2 separate regions of the Homo sapiens genome follow, and region 1 is linked to region 2. Evidence: promoter capture Hi-C in human tissues and cell types (Jung and others, 2019). All regions are on one chromosome and are shown on one strand. The core of a region is centred on a gene start or on the middle of the fragment in contact, and the rest is flanking DNA. Distances in the headings are between cores, read along the strand shown. Region 1 has its middle 18 kb from the start of ALDH3B2. Region 2 holds the start of CABP2 (calcium binding protein 2).

Evidence for each region. The method cuts DNA at HindIII sites, captures the fragments that hold promoters and counts their contacts. A contact is called where the count stands out against the background at its distance.
Region 1: a fragment that was not itself captured here is called in contact with the fragment with the promoter of CABP2 in region 2 in 2 of the 25 tissues and cell types used here (dorsolateral prefrontal cortex and lymphoblastoid cells).

The regions. Positions count from the first base shown.
Region 1 is chr11:67,690,186-67,695,293 of GRCh38, forward strand. No RefSeq gene overlaps it. Among named protein-coding and RNA genes, the nearest start is that of ALDH3B2, 18 kb to the left of the region's middle. The HindIII fragment of the contact is 4,464 bases long and covers 1,267-5,108 here.
Region 2 is chr11:67,520,354-67,525,424 of GRCh38, forward strand. It overlaps CABP2 (calcium binding protein 2), which reads right to left and starts at 3,093. Exons shown (of 7, transcript NM_016366.3): 1 at 2,932-3,093; 2 at 2,193-2,363; 3 at 1,599-1,629; 4 at 672-806. The coding sequence starts at 2,973. The HindIII fragment of the contact is 19,085 bases long and covers 1-5,071 here.

The sequences.
Region 1 (5,108 bases), core at 2,249-4,748, 170 kb after region 2:
AATTGGAACACTTTGAAATGGCCATCGTCCTGGATTTTTTCCTCTAAGGGGTAACTTTTTTTAAGGCTTGTTTATTTGTGTTTTTTTTTTTTTTTTTTTTTTTTGCAAATTAAATAACTGTAACTTGTTTGGCTAAAGTATAAACTTTAATGCATCCATAAACAGAACTGCATCACACATAGCTTGGGGATCCTAATTACTTCCCTGATGTAGTTGGGACAAAATTTCTCTTATAAGATGCTTGGATAACATTTCTCTTTGATCTGGAAGTATCCATCTTCCTTTTGAATTTTTTTTGAGCTCTAATCTTTTCTAACTTTTTCGTCTTGAGAGAAAATAGGAACTACAATAGGAGAAGGGAGACAAGGGGTTAAATGAAAAATGCACGTCTCAGAAACAGCAGCCTGCTTTGCTATTTGGTCTGCAAGATTGTTTCCTCGACTTTTAAAAGAAAAGTTAGGTTGGTGTCCTGGAACATGGACAATGGCTATTTCTTCAGGTAACTGAAGATTATTAAAAACATGAACAATTAGTGTTTCACGAGGAAGTTCTTTACCTTTACTGTTAATTAGTCCTTGCTTAGCCCCAATTTTCCCAAATGTATGAGATACCCCAAAGGCATATTTAGAGTCAGTATAGATGGTTTTTACCTGGTTCTGTAAATATTTTAGGGCGTGACTGTGAATAACTCGCAAGGTTGGGCAGACTAACTATTTGATAATCTTCCTGATTTTACTTCTTTTAAGATCTTCCTATAATTATAGCATATCCATTATGTCATGTCCCTTCAATTACCCGGGAGGAGACATCTATAAATAGATGTCGCTCTGTTTTAAAAGGGGTCTCTACTAAATCTGGCCTAACTTTTGTATGATAGTCAATTAAATCTAACCACAAATGTTCTTTTTTTGAGCAGTAGGTTTCCTGTTAAGAAGCTTGCTGGATTTCAGGAATTATCTGTTAAATCATCTTTTTTTTTAATAGAATAGCCTCATATTTTAAGATTCTAGAATCAGTAAGCCATCTCCCAGCTTTTTGGTTTAGGATCACCTTAACTTGGTGAGGGGTGCTCACTGTTAGGTACCCTTCAAAAGTTAATTTCTTACTTTCTTCAACTAGTATTGCTGTGGCTGCTAGAGACTGAATACACGGAGGCCATCTACTGGCAACTGGATCTAATGCTTTTGATAGAAAGGCTACTGGTTGTTGACCGCCTCCATGTTCTTTAGTGACCACCCTACTCTATTGTCTACATTCACAAAAAGATGACATGATTTTCTGAAGAGGGTAAGGCTAGGATGGGAGCAGTGATGAGTCTTTCTTTTAATTTCTCCACTTGATTAACTTCTTTAGAAGTCCATATAAGGGGATGCGTTTCCTCTTTAGTTAATTTCTTATATAAGAGCTTACTTTTTAATGCATATGAGTCCATCCATAAACGACAGTACCCAACTAATCCCAGGAATTTTTTAAGTTCTTGTTTGGTTCGGGGCAAGGGTAGAGACATGATTTTCTCAATTTTGGGGGGTCTTATTTTTCTTTTATCTGCACTTATTAAATGGCCTAGATATTTAACTTTAGGTTCTACATATTGAAGCTTTTCTTTTGAAACCCATAACCCTTTATCTTGTAGGTGGTTAAGAACTTTTGTAGAAAGTCCAGCTACCTTTTCTATCTCTTCCTTAGATGTAAGAATATTATCTACATATTGAAGAAAGCATAACTGTTTTGGGACAATAATTTTTTTTAAATACTTGACAAAAAAGATTGGGAAAATCTGTAAATCCTTGGGGTAAAAACTGTCCACCTGTATTGTTGCTTTTGCCTAAATAGGGGTCCTCCCACTCAAAGGCAAATATATTTTGGCTGTCTTTAGCCAAAGGACATGCCTAAAATGTATCTTTTAAGTCTATTACTGTGAACCACTGATGACTATATGGAATTTTACTAAGAATAGTGTAGGGGTTAGGCCCAACAGGATGAGTGGTTTGAACTATTTGATTGATAGCTCTAAGATTTTGCACTAATTGGTATGATTCATCTGATTTTTTTGACTGGTAACATTGGAGTATTGTATGGAGACATAGAAGGTTCAATAGCCCATCTTTAATAAGTCTTTTGATTACAGGCTTTAACCCTATTCTTCCTTCTAAAGGAATAGGGTATTGCTTTCTTTTTACTATTTCCCCTGGAGTCTTTAACTGAACATGTGTTGGAGGAATCTGTAAATTTCCCTGATTACCTTCCCTTGACCAGACAGCTGGATGAATGTATTTTTTATCTGCTATAGCTAACAAATTTAAAGAGGTTAGGAAACCTTTTGGACTAACTTGTAAACCTATACCTAACTTTAACGTTAAATCTCTTTCTAACAAATTGGCTTTTGCTTTAGGAATTAATAAAAATTGTATATAAACTAATCAATTTATATATTTAACTTCTGTATTTTCTAAAACTTTTGCCTTGAATCCTTCCCCTTTAACCCCAGAAACTGTTAATTCCTTTGGGGAACAAACTAAATGAGCTGAAGGAAAACAGACAGGTGAATGGGCTTCTCCTGAGTCGACTAAAAAGGTGATTAATTTATGTCTGGGTCCCACCTCTAAATTTATCAAGGGCTCTTGGTGGGACTCAAAATAGAAAAGTCAGAGCCCCTGACCCCCCTATTCTTCTTTAAAAGTGGTCACAAGTGGGGGAGCTTTTTCTGCCTTTTCTAACTTGGGACATTCCCTTTTAAAACGACCTGGTCTCCCGCATCTGTAACATCTGTCTTTTCCTTCCTCCCTACCAAGCCCAAAGCTTCTTTGCTTCTCCTCTTTATTTTCACATCCACAGCTCCTATGACACTTACTTTGACATTTTTTTCTAAAATACTGACCTGGCCGGGCGCGATGGCTCACACCTGTAATCCCAGCACTTTGGGAGGCCGAGGCGGGCAGATCACGAGGTCAGGAGATCCAGACCGTCCTGGCTAACACGTGAAACCCCGTCTCTACTAAAAATACAAAAAATTAGCTGGGTGTGGTGGCGTGGGCCTGTGGTCCCAGCTACTCAGGAGGCTGAGGCAGGAGAATGGCGTGAACCTGGGAGGCGGAGCTAGCCGAGATCGCACCACTGCACTCCAGCCTGGGTGACAGAGTGAGACTCCATCTCAAAATAAATAAATAAATTAATAAATTAATAAATTAGTTTAAAAAAATAAATACTGACCTTGCCTTCTTTTTTTGTTTTGCATTTTTGAATTCCTAAACTTTTTCCTTTTGCCTCCCCTAGAGAATTTTATAGGCCCAGGTCTAGATCTGGTCTCTGGCATCGTCTGCCAGAGACTAGTGAATTTTGCCAAAAGATTTTTGCTTTTTGCCTTTGTCTTTCCTTATTTTTTTACATATAGTTTTTGAGCCTTTTTAAATAACTTTTTTATTGATTTTTTAAATTTTCTAATTTTTGTAACTTTTTAGTAATGTCTGGCCAACTGTGAGTAACAAAGTGCAGTTTTAACATTCCTTGCCCAAGAGGGCTTTCTGGGTCTAAGTTAGCATTTTTTTTATTTGTTCTTTTAATTTATCTATGAACCTCATAGGTCCTTCATCTTTCTTTTGTTGGACATTAAATGCTTTGGAAAGGTTTTGGGGTCTGGGTGCTGACTTTTGAATCCCCCTGATTATTATTTTTTAAAAAATTCCTTATATTATTTCGGTGGGCAGCATTATTTTATCCCACTGCGGGTCCTGAGCAGGGAATTTATGATTTGCTGCCAGAACATTTTGACCTGGAGGATGTTTACGTTCCCAGATCGTATTTCTTTTTTTCCTTGAAAAAATAATACCTAGGATGCACACTGATTCAGCCCAAGTATATAACTGTGGGCCTAAAAACTGATCAATTTGATCTGCCACCCTGTTAGGATTATTTAACAGTGGCTTTAGTTCTCTTTTTATACTCCAAACTTCAGACCCAGTAAGGGGAGCATCCACAAAACCAATAGCTTCTCCTCCTTGGGGAACTTTCCTTAAAGGAAAGAATGTTGAAGTTAACTTTTTTGGGGGGCAGGAAAAGGGAAATTCTGAATATCCTTCTTACATTGTTTTAATTTTTGTTGGAGTCTTTTCTTTAAAGAAGGATATTTAGAATTTTTAGGCTCCTGGGATTCACAAGAATCTGGGTTATATGGGGGAGGCCTGGAGTGGCAGGGGGGCCTGGAGTGGCAGGGGGGCCTGGAGTGGCAGCTGGGTCAGGGATCAGGTCCAGAAGGGGATCTAGGACAGCAGCAGCTACCTGGGGAGGTGTCAGCAGGTTATTAAGAAACGGGGGAAGGTGGTCTAGAGGGTCCTATCTCTTATTAGATAAGGCCATTTTTGACTGTTTTTTATTTTCTAGTCCCCCTTTGATCGTTTTTAAAGGATAAAGAATAATATAGGCCCTTGCCGCTAGCATAAAGCATAATCAATTTTTCTTGTGACACAGGACTTTTGCTATAAACATATATTATTAAAAGTTGACAGATTTAATCTTTATCTGACCTAAATTTTGACCAAAAAACCGCTGGCTTGAGAATTGGCTTTTTAGTCCAAATAAAGCAACAATACTTAATTATCTGCTGCTTTTTTTAAATTTAGTTTTTTTATTATCTTTCCAATACTTTAACATGAGCCTTAAAGGACTATCGGGAGGGATTTGATAACTTGCATCTTTTTTTGCCCCCGATTTACTAGAAACCTTTCCCATATTGAATATCAGGTAGACTTAACCTCTTAATCCTAGAGATTTCTTGTCTATCCTGTTTTTTCCTGGCTTGCTTATATTTTTAACCTTAACGTGCTTGAGGTTTCGTTTTCCCTGAGGAGGATTTAACTCCTCTTTTTCTTTCTGGAGGCTTTTTACACTCTTCACTCGCTTTGTCCTACCTGGCCACTTTCCTCACGGGAATTTAGGCCCCTCTTAGCATTGGCGTGCCGGTATAAACCCCAAGGCAAGATCCGCCTTAAGCCGTATGAGGTAGCCACGGAACCGCAGGCAAGACTCACTCGCTCGGTCCAGCAGTAGGACTTATCATGATTTACACAAGCAACACCAGCTGCAGTGAGGCTTGTGACTATTCACACACACTT
Region 2 (5,071 bases), core at 1,843-4,342:
AAACCACTCTCAAAACTTATTGGGCCGGGCACGGTGGTTCACGCCTGTAATGCCAGCACTTTGGGAGGCTGAGGCGGGTGGATCACCTGAGGTCAGGAGTTCGAGACCAGCCTGACTAACATGGTGAAACCCCGTCTCCACTAAAAATACAAAAATTAGCTGGGCATGGTGGCAGGTGCCTGTAATCCCAGCTACTCAGGAGGCTGAGGCAGGAGAATTGCTTGAACCCAGGAGGCAGATGTTGCAGTGAGCCGAGATAGCGCCATTGTCACTCCTGGGTGACAGAAAAAGACCCCATCTAAACAAAAAACAAAAAACAAAAAACAAACAAACAAAAAAACCAAAAAACTTCTTGGAACTTTCCTTAATTTTCCTGAACTCTTCGGTTGGGTTCAAGTCCTGGCTCCAAGGAACTTGCTGTGTGACCTTAGACAAGTCACTTAGCCATTCAGTTGCCTCATCTGCAGAATGAGGATCACAGTCCTTGCTGTGCCCACCTCCTAGAAGCTGGTGAGATTCTCCAGAGGCAGAGAGCTTGCCTTGAGAATGACCAAGGTCATGGGCTCTGGGGACAGCCTGTGCAGTCACCTGTGTACCTGGACTGCTTGGCTTCATGGGCCCAGCGGGGGCATCTGGAGGACTGGGGATGGGGATGGGTCCGAGGCACATACTGATTTGTTGTGAGATCTCGATGAGCTCCATCTCGGTGGGCATGTAGCCCAGGGTCCGCATGCAGGCACCCAGCTCCCGGCAGCCAATGTAGCCGTCCCGGTCTCGGTCAAACTCCTGGAAGGCGACCTGCAGCTCTGCCAGGCAGGGTGGGGTCAGTCCTTCCCCCACAACCCCCTGATCCTGGCCTGGACCCGCCTACCCTTCTCCCTTGGTCCAATCATCCCTCCTTCTGAACATCAGATTCTCTTTGCTGCCTCGGGGCCTTTGCACGTGCTGTTCCTGTTATTTGTTCTTTCAGCAAATATTTGAGGAGCATCTACTATGTGCCAAGCTCTGCTCTAGGCACTGGGGATACAGCAGTGAAATTTTTCAAAAAGGAAGAAAGAAAGAAAGTGGGGGAAACAAATTCTGACCTCTTGGAGATTTCCTCACTCTTCCCCTTCCTCTTTGGTCCTATGTCACCTACTAAAGGAAGCCATCCCTCTACATGTGGCCTCCCCCGGCCCATTTGTCCCTTTCCTGGAGAGCACATGCACCATTTGTACTTGTAGCTGACTAATTGACGTTGGTCTCCAGAGGGCACGGGCCATATCTGTCTAGCTGGCCATGTTTCCCAGTGCTCAGCCAGGGCCAGGCACACAGTGGGCACCCAGGAAGTGTCAGCTGAATGAACAAATATAAAAGGGGCCCTGTCACCTGCCTGGTGAGTGAGACCAAGGAATGACAGCTGGGTGGGGGTCTGTCATCCCCTCCCTGCTCAGTCTTGTCCCCATTTCCCTAAACTGGTCCCCTGCAGCCTTCTTGCTCCCACTTCCTCCTGGAAACACTGAGGCCCCCACCCGATGCCCCCCCAACCCTGTGTCCCCACCCCATGCCCCCCATGCCACCTCCCCTTCAGGGAACCAGTTCCTTCTCCAACCCTTTACCTTCAATCTCCTCGGGCCGCAGCTCCCGGTCCTGAAGGGCACAGAGGGGTTAGGAATTCCCTGCTCCTACTGATGACTGTGCCCTTCCTTCTTGCTTCCCGGGGCTCCCCACCCAGCCCCACAATCCAACACGCACACGCAGGGCCTGTGTCTGTCTGATTGCTCGGCCCTGGTTCCCACCCCATCCTACTCACTGGCCTGGGTAACCGGGTGCCCCCTTCCCTGCTTCTGGCCTAGGTCACTCCTTGGGCCGTCCTCACCTACTCCATCACCCTCTTCTGGGGCAGGGGGCTCCCTTTGCTGGTGGTGGATCTGGGGTTTGGGCAGAACCTCAGACTTGGTCCCGCCAGCCTCAATGTCACTGTTGATCTCTCTTCCATTTCTAGAGTCATTGCTCTCTCCCCTCTCTGCACCCCCACCCCAGATCTGTGTACCTTTGCTCTGATGTCCCCACTCAATCCTCTTCCCCCTAGCTCCAGGAGAGGCAAAGCGAGGGGCAAGGGTAGGTGGGCTGGAGTGCGAGGGGCAAGGGCAGGTGAGCTGGTGGGAGAGGGGCAAGGGCAGGCAGGCTGGCGGGCGGGTGGCCGTACATACGAGTTGGGTGGCGGCAATGCTGGGCCGCAGGAAGATGCAGGCAGGCCCCACCAGGCTGTTGAGCACCGAGTAGCCCTGGACGCCTGGCGCGGGGTCCCCCTGCTCCTTGGGGCTGGAGCTGGGGCTGGGGCAGGAGCCCCTTGGTGGGGAGCCGAGCCACTGCAAGGGGTCCTGCAGCAGAGCCGGCCGTGAGCTGGGGCAGTGGCCGCTGAGCTCTGGGCCTGATAGCCCTCCCCACTCCTCTCACCAGCTGCTCCTGTCTTTGGAGCCCGGCATGGGACAGTAGGGAAGGGGCTGGGGGGTAGAGAGAGGACCCTCACCCGTGAACTCTTTAGGCAGAAAGGGTCAATCCTCTAACTGTTCTGTTGGGCAAACTGAGGACCAGAAAAGGCAAGAGACTTGGCCAAGGCCACTGAGAAAGCCAGCGGCAGAGAGGGACCTTGTGCCCAGCTCTGTCTCCTAGATGGAGGCTGGCTAGCAGAGAGCGGGGACCTGCAGCCGGGATGGGGCAGCTGGACGGGCAGCTGGGGGACCTGGAGCCTGGCAGGGGAGACCCAGAGGTCGGTGGGAGCCAAGATCAGGATGGCCAGAGGCTGTGGCTTCCAGGAAAAAAATCTCCACCTGGGGCAGTGGGCAGCCCCCAACCCCGCCCGGCCCTCGGAGGGCTCTGCCCATCCCATCTGACCCTCAGGGTCCATTCCAGCCTCCTGGCCTGGGTTTCTCCCCTGACCCCTCCTACCTTAGGGCCCCGGCGCCAGGGCCGCTTGGCACAGTTCCCCATGGGCCCTGAACCATGCCAGGCCTGGAACCCCGGGGGTGGCCCGGGTGGGCCTCGGCGGATGCTGCTGCCTGAGGACTCCTGCCAGCCCCCAGCTGCTCCCGATGAGAGCCTGGGAGTACTGCCGGGGATTTTCCTGGGGTTTTGTGGGGAAGATCGGGGGCGGGTGGGCAGGCGGGGGACTTGGGCCTGGGGCTTGGGTCCTAATCCGGGATTATCTTTGAGCGTCTCCGCTGCTGAGGGGAGCCACTTGGGCCCAAGGCCCCCTGGAGAGCACAGCCTCCCCAGACTGCCTCCTGAGGGTCTTCCAGACGCCCCTTCTCCAGCACCCTCCCCCAACCCCTGCCTCTAATCTCTCCCAATCAGGGGAGATTTAATGTCTTCAGAAGCAGGGCCTGGGTCCCAGGAGGAGGAAGGCAGGCGTGCAGTGTGCCAGGGTGGGCTGGGCCCTCCGAATGGCACAGATTCCGGTTGGTATGGACACGCGGGCCTTCCCACACAGCCTCCCAGAAAGAGGCAGCCACTTGGCTCAGCCCAGGAAGCCCCTGCCTCTCCCTGCCAGGACCCCAGCTGGGCCCTGGGCTCCTCACCTCGGGGTAGCCCCAATTGCTTGCACTTGGCTCCCCCTGCCTGGACTGGTGCCCCGCCCTTGGATGAGGAGCAGAAGGGAACCGCCTATGTGCTGTGGGCAGTGACAGGGCTCGGTGAGGGTGGAGATTGGGAAGGGAAGCCACCCCGGCCCTGCCGACCTCAGAGAGTCTCCCATTGGACTCTGCCTCCTGGTCCCCTCCCTGGACTAAGTCCTGGGTCTGTCCTCCGGGGCCCCCAGTTGGGGTGTGGGGTCCCTGCTCTTTGTTCCTGGTCCCCTCATACCCCTGCCCGCATTACCTGCCCGTAGGCTGCCTGCACCTGGGCCTCGAGCTCCCGGAGAAGCTCTCGTCGCCGGGTGGCTGCTGGGCTGCCAGGGGCCTGGCTGGTTCCTGGAGTGCCCTCAGAGGGGCTGGGGTCCCCCGTTGGGAGGCTGCCCTCTGCTGGGCCCTGGGGCTGGGCCATGGAGATGAGGGCTTGGTACCTCCTCCTGGCTGAGGGACGCTGCTCCGTCCGGCCTCCCCAGTCCTGCGGGAGAGTGGTCTTGTGGGCAGCCACAGGTGTGGCCTGGGTCCCTGCTACTCTTCTTTCTGTCCCTTCCTCCATAAACTGGGAGAGCCCCGTGTCCCCAGAGTCTTGTATCCTCCCTAGCTCCCCGTGGCCCCTCGTGTGGCCCTGTCAGCCTGGTGAAGCCCCTCATGCTGGTCACAGACTGTGCCCGGGGCTCCACCTGATCATCCTTGTGGCCCCAGTGGTCGGCCCTCCTGCCTGCCTTTGGCCTCCTCCCCCGCAGTGTTCTGCCTGCATCTCTCTGGCTCACGCGCACCTGATGCCCCACACACCTCCTTGCTCAGTTTCCATCTCACCGCCTGCCCCTCTGTGCCCCCTCTGCCTCTGTGTCTGTTTTGCCTGCAGCCCCGTCTCCATCCCCTCTGACTCGCCGCCATCTCTGTCAGTCTGGATCCAGTGGTGTCTCTGCCGTCTCTGACCCACTCAGCCCATCTCTCTGCTGGCTCCTTCCCTCTGTTGCTGCAAGGTCCTTTCTTGCATTGGTCTTTCTGTCTGTCCTTCCTTGCTCTTCCTATTCTCCCCACCATCCCGCTCCCAGGAGAGCTCCAGAATTCTGGAAAGGCCTTCCCCATCTCCCCAGCCCAGAGCCCTAGGGTCCGTCTGTGCTGCCCACCTCCCTGCCTCCCTCCCTCCTCCCCAGGGTCCCTCTGTGCTGCCCCCTCCTTCCCTCCCTCCTCCCCAGGGTCCCTCTGTGCTAGCCCCCTCCTTCCCTCCCTCCTCCCCAGGGTCCCTCTGTGCTAGCCCCCTCTCCTCCCCAGGGTCCCTCTGCATTGCCCACCTCCCTGCGTTCTGCCAGGACCTCCACCTGGTCCTGCTGACCTTCAACCTCTTGCTTCTCAAGGAAAAGGGGTGGAGGTGGGCCGGGCAGCCCCTGCTGGCCTCTCAGGCTTCCTTGCCATGACCCCAGCCCACTCCCCACCCAGCTGCCCGCTCTTCAACTCCC